2 separate regions of the Homo sapiens genome follow, and region 2 is linked to region 1. The links are contacts of gene promoters, found by promoter capture Hi-C in blood cells and fetal thymus (Javierre and others, 2016). All regions are on one chromosome and are shown on one strand. The core of a region is centred on a gene start or on the middle of the fragment in contact, and the rest is flanking DNA. Distances in the headings are between cores, read along the strand shown.

Evidence for each region. Contacts are between HindIII fragments. The CHiCAGO score rates a contact against its expected background, and 5 or more counts as called.
Region 2: a fragment that was not itself captured here is called in contact with the fragment with the promoter of MED28 in region 1 in 4 of 17 cell types (endothelial precursors, total CD8 T cells, naive B cells and 1 more); the score reaches 7.5 in endothelial precursors.

The regions. Positions count from the first base shown.
Region 1 is chr4:17,612,222-17,618,145 of GRCh38, forward strand. It overlaps MED28 (mediator complex subunit 28), which reads left to right and starts at 2,420. Exons shown (of 4, transcript NM_025205.5): 1 at 2,420-2,592. The coding sequence starts at 2,434. MED28-DT (MED28 divergent transcript) reads right to left here and starts at 2,359. Exons shown (of 3, transcript NR_186331.1): 1 at 1,921-2,359; 2 at 1,711-1,817. RefSeq lists enhancers at 1,765-2,964, 2,070-2,359, 2,460-2,569. The HindIII fragment of the contact is 7,436 bases long and covers 1-2,510 here.
Region 2 is chr4:18,592,911-18,598,834 of GRCh38, forward strand. All of the region lies in intron 1 of LOC105374510 (a long non-coding RNA gene), which reads left to right. Among named protein-coding and RNA genes, the nearest start is that of LCORL, 570 kb to the left of the region's middle. The HindIII fragment of the contact is 462 bases long and covers 2,554-3,015 here.

The sequences.
Region 1 (5,924 bases), core at 1,170-3,669:
CACTGCCTCCAGCCTAAAATTCTCAGTTTTAACTTATCAGATAAATATTAGCAGACTTAACCCACATAAACAAAAACTTTGGGATCCTCAATAATTTTTAGGAGTGTAAAGGGGTCTTGAGACCAAAACTGTCTGAAAACTGCTGGAGTAGGCTTGTTTCCTCCTGGCGGTCTCTTCTGGTTCTTTCAGTCATCACATATTTATTATATCTATTATGCCAGGCACCATTCTAGATTCTGGGGATACAGGTGAATAAGATGGGCAGGCTCTGATGCACGGAACTTATTTTCTAGTTGGCATGTGTATGACAGAGAGAGAAGGAGGAGGAGGGCAGGTGATTCAGTTATGAAAAAATGAACAAGATAATTTCAGATTACATAAATGTTGTGAAGAAAATTAAACAGGGGAAAGTACTTAGGAGTGGGGATCTAAGTGAAACTGAGGCTGGGAAGATGACTTGATCCGAGCCTGGTTGGCAAAGGGAAGCTCCTGCTTTTTCTCTGAACATTTCTGCCCTGGCTCACTCCTCTGGCAATGAGCTTCCTGTGGTTCCTTAAACATCCCAGGCAGGCTGCTTCTTCAGGGATCCTTCGGTGTAGAAAGCACTCCTAGTTAAATTTTCATGCCAGTCACTACAGTCCAGATCTCCTTGGAGAGGCCTCCTCCAATCACCTATCTCAAAGAACACCCCTCTCACTAGCCATCCCCTTACTGGGTTTCATTTTCCTTCCCAGCTCTTCTCTCTGCACAATATTGCTATGTATTTATGTGCTTGTCTGTCTCCTTCCAGAGATTTGGGATGATTGCTATAACCTCCAGATCATTAAATAGTGCCTGGGAAGTGGAGCGCTCAGTAAGTGTGCTGGGTAATAACTGTAAAATCAGATATAATGAAAAAAAGTTATTTGGTTTTAAAGAGATAAATAAGAAGGTTGGGCACGGTGGCTCACGCCTGTAATCCTAGCACTTTGGAAGACCGAGGCGGGCGGATTGTCTGAGCTCAGGAGTTCGAGACCAGCCTGGGCAACAAGGTGAAACCCCGGCGCTACTAAAATACAGAAAAACTAGCCGAGCGGCGGGCGCCTGTAGTCCCAGCTACTCGGAAGGCTGAGGCAGGAGAATTGCTTGAACCCAGGAGGCGGAGGTTTCAGTGAGCCGAGATCGCGCCACTGCATTCCAGCCTGGGCGACAGAGCGAGACTCCGTCACCAAAAAAAAAGAGAGAGATAAGCAAATGTTAAAAGCAGGTTACTACAAGATTAGCAGCCTAGTGCCGGGCGCGGTGGCTCACGCCTGTAATCTCAGCACTTTGGGAGGCCGAGTCGGGCGGATCACGAGGTTAGGAGATCGAGACCATCCTGGCTAACACGGTGAAACCCCATCTCTACCAAATATACAAAAAATTAGCTGGGCGTGGTGGCGGGCGCCTGTAGTCCCAGCTACTCGGGATGCTGAGGCAGGAGAATGGCGTGAACCCGGGAGGCGGAGCTTGCAGTGAGCCAAGATCGCGCCACTGCACTCCAGCCTGGGCGACAAAGCGAGACTCTGTCTCAAAAAAAAAAAATTAGCAGCCTGGCGCCTTGGCTCATTACTGTATTCCCAACACTTTGGGAGGCCGCGGCGGTAGAATCACTTGAGCTCAGTAAAACACCTGACTCAACTAAAAAAAAAAAAAAAAAAAAAAAAAAAAGCCCGTCGCGACTGCACGCACCTGTGGTCCTAGCTACTTGGGTGGCTGAAGTAGGGGGATTGTTTGAGCCCGGGAGGTCGAGCCCTGATCATGACACTGCACTCCGGCCAGGGCGACAGAACGAGACCCTGAGAAAAAAGAAAAGAAAGAAAAAAAAAGATTAGCATAGTGACTTTCTCTTTGATGTAACCATAAATATTTAAAGACATCAGTGCCGGGCACATTGGGAACCTCAACAAAGTTGTTTCCGTTATCCATCTCCGACCAGAATTCAGGAAGAACTTTGCCTGTCTTGTTCCCGCTATAACCAATGACTCAACAAATGTTTGTGGAGTGAGTGGGTGACCCTCTCCTTTTACCAACGGTAAACAGCCCGCGGAAAGAAAAAGTGACTTAGCCAAAGTCTCTCCAGGCATTTGGGGCAGAGTCGGGACTAGCATAGTAGTATCCTGACTCTCGCAGGAGGGCTCGCTCCACTGTAGTTATTAATTCTCCTCTCCACACAACCAGGTCTAATCCGGCCAAAGTCTTCAATTCTTAAGCTAAGAAAAAAGGAAAATACATGTAAACTCTGTTTTGCGATAGACAAGAAAACAGAAGAATTAAAAATCCTCCTTCCGGGGTGCACCAGAATCCTCCCATCGCTCGGTCCTGTCACGTGACCACGCCTACTACACCAGCCACGTGAGCTTCTGAGCCGGCTTCCGCGCAGGCGCAGTGGATCTCTCTTGCGCCATTCCAAACATGGCGGCTCCACTAGGGGGTATGTTTTCTGGGCAGCCACCCGGTCCCCCTCAGGCCCCGCCGGGCCTTCCGGGCCAAGCTTCGCTTCTTCAGGCAGCTCCAGGCGCTCCTAGACCTTCCAGCAGTACTTTGGTGGACGAGTTGGAGTCATCTTTCGAGGTAATATAAGACATGGGCGTCTTTGTCCCTAGCCTTCCCTTTTTTCTGAAACGTGAACTGCGCGTACGCGTATCTCCTCCAGGGATCCGAGCAACTAATTCACAAATGGGGAAACTGAGGCTTAAAGTAAGTCACTTGCTTTAGGCTTCCCCGTGGCCCGTATTCAATTCAGGTCTGCTGGCGGGGGCGCGTAAACTCGACGTTTGTGGAAACGTGAACCCGAAGTTTGCCTAAACCCCAAACTTGGAACCCTTCCAGATTCCCAGCCGGTCCTTAGTCTCATCCCCGAGCACCGTTTCTTGCATCCCTGCATGTTTAGTAAGAGGCTCAAGCCTTTTCGGAGCTGAGAGTTTCACTGCTGTATCCTGTATCCTTTCCGCTGGGCTTCACCTTTAAACGATCCTAAAGGGACTCTTAAGAGCGGAAATTGACTTAAGTTACCAGGCGCAGCTTGGTACTAAGAGCTGAGGAAGGAGGAATGCTGGAGGTTAGGGAGGGAGGGAGGCACAGGTGACCCAATCTCTCAGTTTTGCCCAAGGAGTTTACCTTGTAGCAAGAAAGGTGAACTGTATATTGAGGGAAGATAGAGAGGTGAAAATAAGTGCTCTGGTGATTTCCAGTAGTCTTTAAAGTGGAAGATGAGCTATTCCTGTGTAGTAATAAAGTAATGTACGTTCAAATTGGAGTTAACTTTTCCACATTTTAAATCCCAGTTTTGCCGGGCGCGGTGGCTCACGCCTGTAATCCCAGCACTTTGGGAGGCCGAGGCTGGCGGATCATGAGGTCAGGAGTTCGAGACCAGCCTGACCAACATGGTGAAACCCTGACTCTACTAAAAATACAAAAATTAGCCAGGCGTGGTGGCGTGCGCCTGTAATCCCAGGTACTCGAGAGGCTGAGGCAGGAGAATCGCTTGAACCTGGGATGCGGAGGTTGCAGTGAGCGGAGACCGCGCCATTGCACTCCAGCGTGGGTGACAAGAGCTCGACTCCGTCTCAAAAAAGTAAAATAAAATATAAATAAATAAAAATCCCAACTTTGTGACTTTTGTATTGTATCTAATAGCACAGTGGTAAATGAATATAATTTGCAAGCGATTATTCAGACTGCATGGACAAAATGCTTTTACCACACGGATGTACAAAGATTTAGAAATAAATGATTTGAGATGGAGTCTCACTCTCTCGCCCAGGCTGGAGTACAGTGGCGCAATTTCGGCTTACTGCAACCTCCGCCTCCCGGGTTCAAGCGATTTTCCTGCCTCAGCCTCCCGAGTTGCTGGGATTACAGGCACCTGCCACCATGCTATTTTTTTTATTTTTTAGTAGAGACAGGGCTTCACTATCTTGGCCAGGCTGGTCTCGAACTCCTGACCTCGTGATCCACCCGCCTCGGCCTCCCAAAGTGCTGGGATTACAGGCGTGAGCCACTGCGCCTAGCCAGAAATAAATGATTTAAAGGACAGACCGTTTAGGAGGAGGAGGAGGAGACACCTTTGAGGTGGTGCTAAGTGGTAAAGGAAGGGGCTGGTGAACTTTAGAGCAGCATCTAGCATTGTGCTTGAGGGGAGCTGGCTCTCAGTCATGGGCACTTGCTGAAAGACTGGCCCTGTACAAGTCTTAGCCAAAGTTGACTCCCAGCACCCTGCTGCTTAAAAACGTACAGTGGCTGCTTGTTGCCCTTGAGATAAGATCAAGATGTTTAGTGTGGTCTCCCAGGCTTTGCATGTTGCGTTCTCTCCTTCAGACTCGTTTCCTTACTGCAGCCACACAAGACTTTCCCACGTGTACCATTTGTTTTCTCTTTGGGCTTCCAGGCCGCTCCTCAGCTCACTGCATCACTTCCTCAGTGGACCCTTCCCTGGCCTTCTTTTTAATACTTACCATTAAATTCGGCTCCATGAAGTCAGAGACTACCTGTTTTGTACCCCCACCCCTCACATTGTGTAACCTGTAGTGCTAATACAGTGGTAGTAGATAGCAAGTGCTAGATGAATATTTGTCAGACATTGAAGGAATCTGTAGTGTGGAGCCTGTAGTGTAGTTGGCTTGTGCACAGAACTCCTTGCCTGATTCACATATATGTCTGTAGGTGCCCTTGAGAGAGAACTCCCTCTGGGACTTGATTATCCATACAGAGAATACAGAGAAAACCAGTCCCTGCCTTCAGGAAGCTTGTAATAAACGGCAGGCAGTTGCCTTGTTGTAGGATCACTGCTCTGATAGAAGAAACCTGGGGTACTGTGGGAGCACATATAGGTGTGGACATCAAAGAAGGCTTCCCAGAGAGCAGGAAAGCCAAAGAAGCATTTTGACTTAGCCAGGTGAAGGGGAGTGGGAGTGGTGCGAGCTGGATCCTCTCTGCTGCTGGGTGATCACGATCTGTCTAGTCTTGTCTCACGATTCAATTCAAAGGCCACATTTTCTTTGGAACTTTTCCTGTTTCCTTCCTTGTGTTCTGTGTGGACCTCAATTTTCACAGCCTCCAGTGGCACATAGCAGCACCTACTTACCTGCTTCTCATTCCTATTGGGGTGCCACTCCTTGAGGTCTCTGTCTGCTCATTCTAGCTGCTTAGCACATGCTCTTTGATGGAAGGAATTTATTGAGCTCATGCACTCTTGATTTTGGAGGGAACGTTGGAGACCATCTAGTTCCATTTCCTCCATTCATAGGTAGAGAAACTGAGGCTCAGTGAGGGCAAGTTACTTGCTGAAAGCCAGCCGTTGGGTTTGTGGAAATGAGGACAAGCACTTACTTTCCAGGCAAAGGCTCTGTTTTAGCCATGCTTTTAAAAAGCTGTTCTCTTTCTAGGCAGATGCGGTGGCTCACGCCTGTAATCCCAGCACTTTGGGAGGCCAAGGTGGCTGGATCACTTGAGGTCACGAGTTCGAGACCATCCTGGGCAACATGGTGAAACCCCATCTCTAACTAAAAATACAAAAATTAGTGGTCTCTGGTGGCACACGCCTTAATCCCAGCTACTTGGGAGGCTGAGGCAGGAGAATCGCTGAAACCCGGGAGGCAGAGGTTGCATTGAGCCAAGATCGTGCCACTGACTCTAGCCTGGGCAATAGAGTGAGACTCCATCTCAAAAAAAAAATATATGTTCTCTTTCTAAGCTACCACACATTTTCTTCTTAATACAGCTGTCCAACTGTCTATAAAGGCCTGTGTATCTTTTTTTTTTCTTTTCTTTTCTTTTTTTTTTTTTTTTGAGACAGAGTCTCACTCTGTCACCCAGGCCAGAGTGCAATGGCACGATGTTGGGTCACTGCAACCTCCACTTCCTGGGCTCAAGTGGTCCTCTTGCCTCAGCCTTCCAAGTGGCTG
Region 2 (5,924 bases), core at 1,535-4,034, 980 kb after region 1:
CTCTACTTAAAAATTTAAAAATACATTTGAATAATAAAAAAATAATTTTTAATGGGAGAGAAATTATTTTGAATGTAAAATGAGTGTGATGGGGAGGAAAATTGTGGGTTTATGCATTAGATTGTTCAGATTCTGTGTATTTACTGTCTTTGGGAGCTGAAGTTAGTTTATTTTTTTTTTTACTTTACTTTCTTCCTGTGTAAAATGAAAATAATGACACCTATTATACACAATTACTTTAAGATTAAATGAGATAGTCCCTTTGGTGCACCTGATATATATAATCAAGATGAAATATTTTGAATGCATAGATTGGCAAGCAGGCTGCACTGTGGATTTATTGCTAGACAAATACAACTTGTGTCAATTTGAAGAAGTCACCAATAAAAATGAAAAATGCCAAACCAAATATTTCTTTGCTCCTTGTTGGAAAGTCACATAAAGAGACAAGATAATAAAACTTAAACTCAGGGACACGTTTTAAGTCCATGATTTGCCTGAAATTGTAGTTGTTAGTTGTGTTTTGCTTTCCTTCTTGTATGAAAGCACCTTTCTCTAAGTCCCTAGTGATATTTGTGCCAAACAAAATAATTGGCTCATTAGGCTGCTGTAGTATTGCCTCTCACTCGGCACCCATATCCTTCTAGTAAGCTGGAAAGAAGAAACAGAGCTCTCTATTCAGAGACCACACAGCTTGCTATCTTTTTTTGCACATCTCGAAGTCAAAGAGGACACAAAAGGATGTTTTTCTGAGCCAATTGGCAGCGCACTCTTATTCTGAACTGCTGGGGCTGGAAGTCTTTCAATGCATGGTAATACTGCCACCATGTGGTCAAACTGAGAAAACCTCGCCCAAATCCTTCAGTCGAAGAGGATTTTCCTTAACATTAATGGGACAGAAGCATTGCGCTTCTTCGACTGGGATTGTTTCACGATAGTCACAAACTATCGTGATTGTTTAGGTAAACGGTTGTCTCACATAAAGGGGCTGAGTGTACTTGATTGGGTGCTAACTGCTAATCCTCCCATTAGCGTGACTGTAACTTTAAATCATTGGTACTTTGAAGTTTCTGTTCTAGGAAATAAGGATGAGAATCTCCATGCTTCCCTATTTCATAAGGTAAGGGAGATACAGTAATATATGCATCGCAACTCTAGATGTAATGGTGTCATAAAATTTCGGGGAGAAAAGTGGGATTTGCTAACCAAAGTGCTGCTATTTGAATGCTGCCACTTTTTAGGGGTATGATCTGAAACAAGTTTTTTCATTTCCTTGGTCCATAGTTTATTGTTCTGAAGAAATGCTGTGAATATTACCTTTTTTTTTTTCTTTTGAGATGGAGTCTCGCTCTGTCGCCAAGCAGGAGTGCAGTGGTGCGATCTCGGCTCCCTGCAACCTCCACCTCCTGGGTTCAAGCCATTCTCCTGCCTCAGCCTCCCGAACAGCTGGGACTACAGGCACACGCCACCACGCCCAGCTAATTTTTGTATTTTTAGTAGAGACGGGGTTTCACCATGTTGGCCAGGATGGTCTCGATCTCTTGACCTTGTGATCCGCCCACCTCGGCCTCCCAACCATTTTTAACTAAGATATTATGTTGATTGTTTGCTGAAAAATTGCTTTTTTAAAATGTAAAATGCTACACCAATATTAGTTTGCATGATTATTATTTGAATACAGACTTAAGAATCTTTATGGCGAAAATTATGCTTGGCTGAATTAGAAGATCTGTGTCCTGGTTCCCACTTGCTCACTAGTATTTTAGGTAAAATTGGACAAGTCAGATATGAAGACATCCATTATTCCCTCTCTCATATATGGATAATGAGCTCATATTTTGTGTATCCTATGGTGAATGTTATTGACATGAACCTTTTGGGGAGATATTTTGAAGACTCTATGCGTGTCAAGCATGTTACATGTTTAGATCTTATTCTTATTTCATTCCAATAACAAGTAATTCTTTCCTCCTATTAACTGGTAATAGGGTCATTCATGGATCACAGATTTGCTTCAAAGTAAATAAATAATCCCTATAAATTCATGCCTCATTTATTATAAATTATAATGCAACCAGGAGCTAGAATCACCCATACCCCTAAAGCATACACAATTGAATATCTTCAGCTGGAGAATACAGTGTTAGCTTCTTTGTGGCAGGTGGCAATTTAAATAGATGCTCTACCTGCTGATCCTGTTGATTTTATGTGCCCTATTAAAATGCATTTTCTGAATGACTTAGTTTAACATAGCGAATAATTTACAAGAAAAATTTTCCATCTCTCTCCCCAATGTTTGAAATAAGAGCATGTTCTGCTTTTTCCCATAGCCCATTTCTCCATTAAAAGAATGTTCCACATCAGAAATATAATTCCTCTCACACTGGCATTTACAGAGGTCTCATTACATTGAACAGAACATTCTTGAGTATGGCTTGATGAACAGCTGATCCACCTCCATACACCTCACACACAGATCTTGCCAGGTGGAGAAGCAGCACAGGAAAGGGAAAACCTGTGTCCTCCTGGGTACCAGAGAACAGCTTGGCTTTAAGCTTATGGAAAAATGGAGAATACTCTCTCTCACACACACACACACATACACACACACACACACACACACACACACACACACAATATTTCTGGGAGAATATACAAAGACTTAAGAGAGATTAGCTATGAAGAATGAAGATAGGAATGAATAGTTTGGGGAGGATTGGGGAAACCTTGATTTACATTTTTCAGTGTTAATGGTGTTTTTCTTACTATAAATGCGTGAATACATATCACTTCTATGCAAAAAATGATACTCTTTAGGTATTTAAAAGAATGATATCTGCATAGGCCATGTAAGCATTCCAAGATATTTTCAATAAAAAAGGAAGTTACAGAATATGTATAGTCATATATATGTGTACATATACACATATATAATGTATGCCTATGTATACATATATCACTATATATCTAACTTCCTTTCTATTATTTATATATAATGTATGTATATATTTAGAAAGCTTTTTGTTGTTGTTGTTGAGATGGAGTCTCACTCTGTCACCAGGCTGGAATGCAGTGGCGTGATCTCGGCTTGCTGCAACCTCTGCTTCCCGGGTTCAAGCGATTCTCCTGTCTCAGCCTACCAAATAGCTGGGACTACAGGTGCGCGCCACCACACCCAGCTAATTTTTGTATTTTTAGTAGATACGGGGTTTCACCATGTTGCCCAGGATGGTCTGGATCTTCTGACATCATGATCCGCCTGCCTCAGCCTCCTAAAGTGCTGGGGTTACAGGTGTGACCCACCGCACCTGGCCAACTTTTTTATTATTTATACAGACAATGTGGTGTGTGTGTGTGTGTGTGTGTGTGTATATATATATATATATATACATATATATATACACACACATATATATATAGACAATATGTGTGTATGTATGTATATACTTAGAAAACTTATGAACGTCTACATAGCCATATAGTTAAAAATTATTATAAGTGAAAAGATTGAAAGGGCTCCAGTGAAGAAAACATGAACTTTAAAACTGTTCTTGCATATTCTGAGTTTTTGATTGAATTTGTATACTAAAAACGCATTTGTGTATTACTTATGTTGTTCAAAAAGTATATATTTTTAGGGATCAGTCAGATTAGGTGGCTGTTTTGTGGCGGATGAAATATACCCACTTGCCCTGGGCTGTTTCCTGCAGTCTCTGCCCAGGATTTCTAGTCTCTATGCTGAGCCTGTCTGTAAGGTGTTTTCTACCCAGCCCGGACTGGATGATGGTCCTTCACTCTAGTCCCGTAATATTCCACTCCCACTTCTACCTGAGAATTAACTACACTGCATTTTACCTGCTTCTTAATTATCCGACCCAGATAGAACGCAACTTATGGTCACATTTCTACATAGTTTCTGATGTATAATAGGCTCTAAAATCAATGTTTATAAAATGGATGGATAAATGGAAACAGGGAAGAAACAAGCAGGAAAGGAAGGAAGGAAAGGAGGAGAGGATGGAGGAAAGAAGGGAGAAATATACATAAAAGAAGTGGTCGAATTGGATCTTCATCAAGAACAAAAATATCTGAGTTTTTATTCAGCTGTGTCTGAAGAAAAAATGATGGAGAAATGAGAATTCCAGTCATTATAGAGATATACATCATTGGGGACAAGTATTTTTCTTCTGTTTTTGTGTGTGTGTGTGAGTATATTTCTTTTTTATTATTATTATACTTTAAGTTTTAGGGTACATGTGCACAATGTACAGGTTAGTTACATATATATACATGTGCCATGGTGGTGTGCTGCACCCATTAACTAGTTATTTAACATTAGGTATATCTCCTAATGCTATCCTTCCCCCTTCCCCCCACCCCACAACAGGCCCTGATGTGTGATGTTCCCCTTCCTGTGTCCATGTGTTCTCATTGTTCAATTCCCACCTATGAGTGAGAACATGCGGTGTTTGGTTTTTTGTCCCTGTGATAGTTTGCTGAGAATGATGGTTTCCAGCTTCATCCATGTCCCTACAAAGGACATGAACTCATCTTTTTTTATGGCTGCATAGTATTCCATGGTGTATATGTGCCACATTTGCTTAATCCAGTCTATCATTGATGGACATTTGGGTTGCTTCCAAGTCTTTGCTATTGAATAGTGCTGCAATAAACATACGTGTGCTTGTGTCTTTATAGCAGCATGATTTATAATCCTTTGGGTATATACCCAGTAATGGGATTGCTGGGTCAAATGGTATTTCTAGTTCTAGATCCCTGAGGAATCGCCACACTGACTTCCACAATGGTCGAACTAGTTTACAGTCCCACTAACAGTGTAAAAGTGTTCCTATTTCTCCACATCCTCTCCAGCACCTGTTGTTTCCTGACATTTTAATGATCACCATTCTAACTGGTGTGAGATGGTATCTCATTGTGGTTTTGATTTGCATTTCTCTGATGGCCAGTGATGGTGAGCATTTTTTCATGTGTCTTTTGGCTACATAAATGTCTTCTTTTGAGAAGTGTCTGTTCATATCCTTCACCCACTTTTTGATGGGGTTGTTTGTTTTTTTCTTGTAAATTTGTTTGAGTTCATTGTAGATTCTGGATATTAGCCCTTTGTCAGATGAGTAGGTTGCAAAAATTTTTTCCCGTTCTGTAGGTTGCCTTTTCACTCTGGTGGTAGTTTCTTTTGCTGTGCAGAAGCTCTTTAGTTTAATTAGATCCCATTTGTCAATTTTGGCTTTTGTTGCCATTGCTTTTGGTATTTTAGACATGAAGTCCTTGCCCATGCCTATGTCCTGAATGGTATTGCCTAAGTATTCTTCTAGGGTTTTTATGGCTTTAGGTCTAACATGTAAGTCTTTAATCCATCTTAAATTAATTTTTGTATAAGGTGTAAGGAAGGGATCCAGTTTCAGCTTTCTCCATATGGCTAGCCAGTTTTCCCAGCACCATTTATTAAATAGGGAATTGTTTCCCCATTTCTTATTTTTGTCAGGTTTGTCAAAGATCAGATGGTTGTAGATATGCGGCATTATTTCTGAGGGCTGTGTTCTGTTCCATTGGTCTGTATCTCTGTTTTTGTACCAGTACCATGCTGTTTTGGTTACTGTAGCCTTGTAGTATAGTTTGAAGTCAGGTAGCGTGATGCGTCCAACTTTGTTCTTTTGGCTTAGGATTGACTTGGCGATGCAGGCTCTTTTTTGGTTCCATATGAACTTTAAAGTAGTTTTTTCCAATTCTGTGAAGAAAGTCATTGGTAGCTTGATGGGGATGGCATTGAATCTATAAATTACCTTGGGCAGTATGGCCATTTTCATGATATTGATTCTTCCTACCCATGAGCATGGAATGTTCTTCCATTTGTTTGTATCCTCTTTTATTTCATTGAGCAGTGGTTTGTAGTTCTCCTTGAAGAG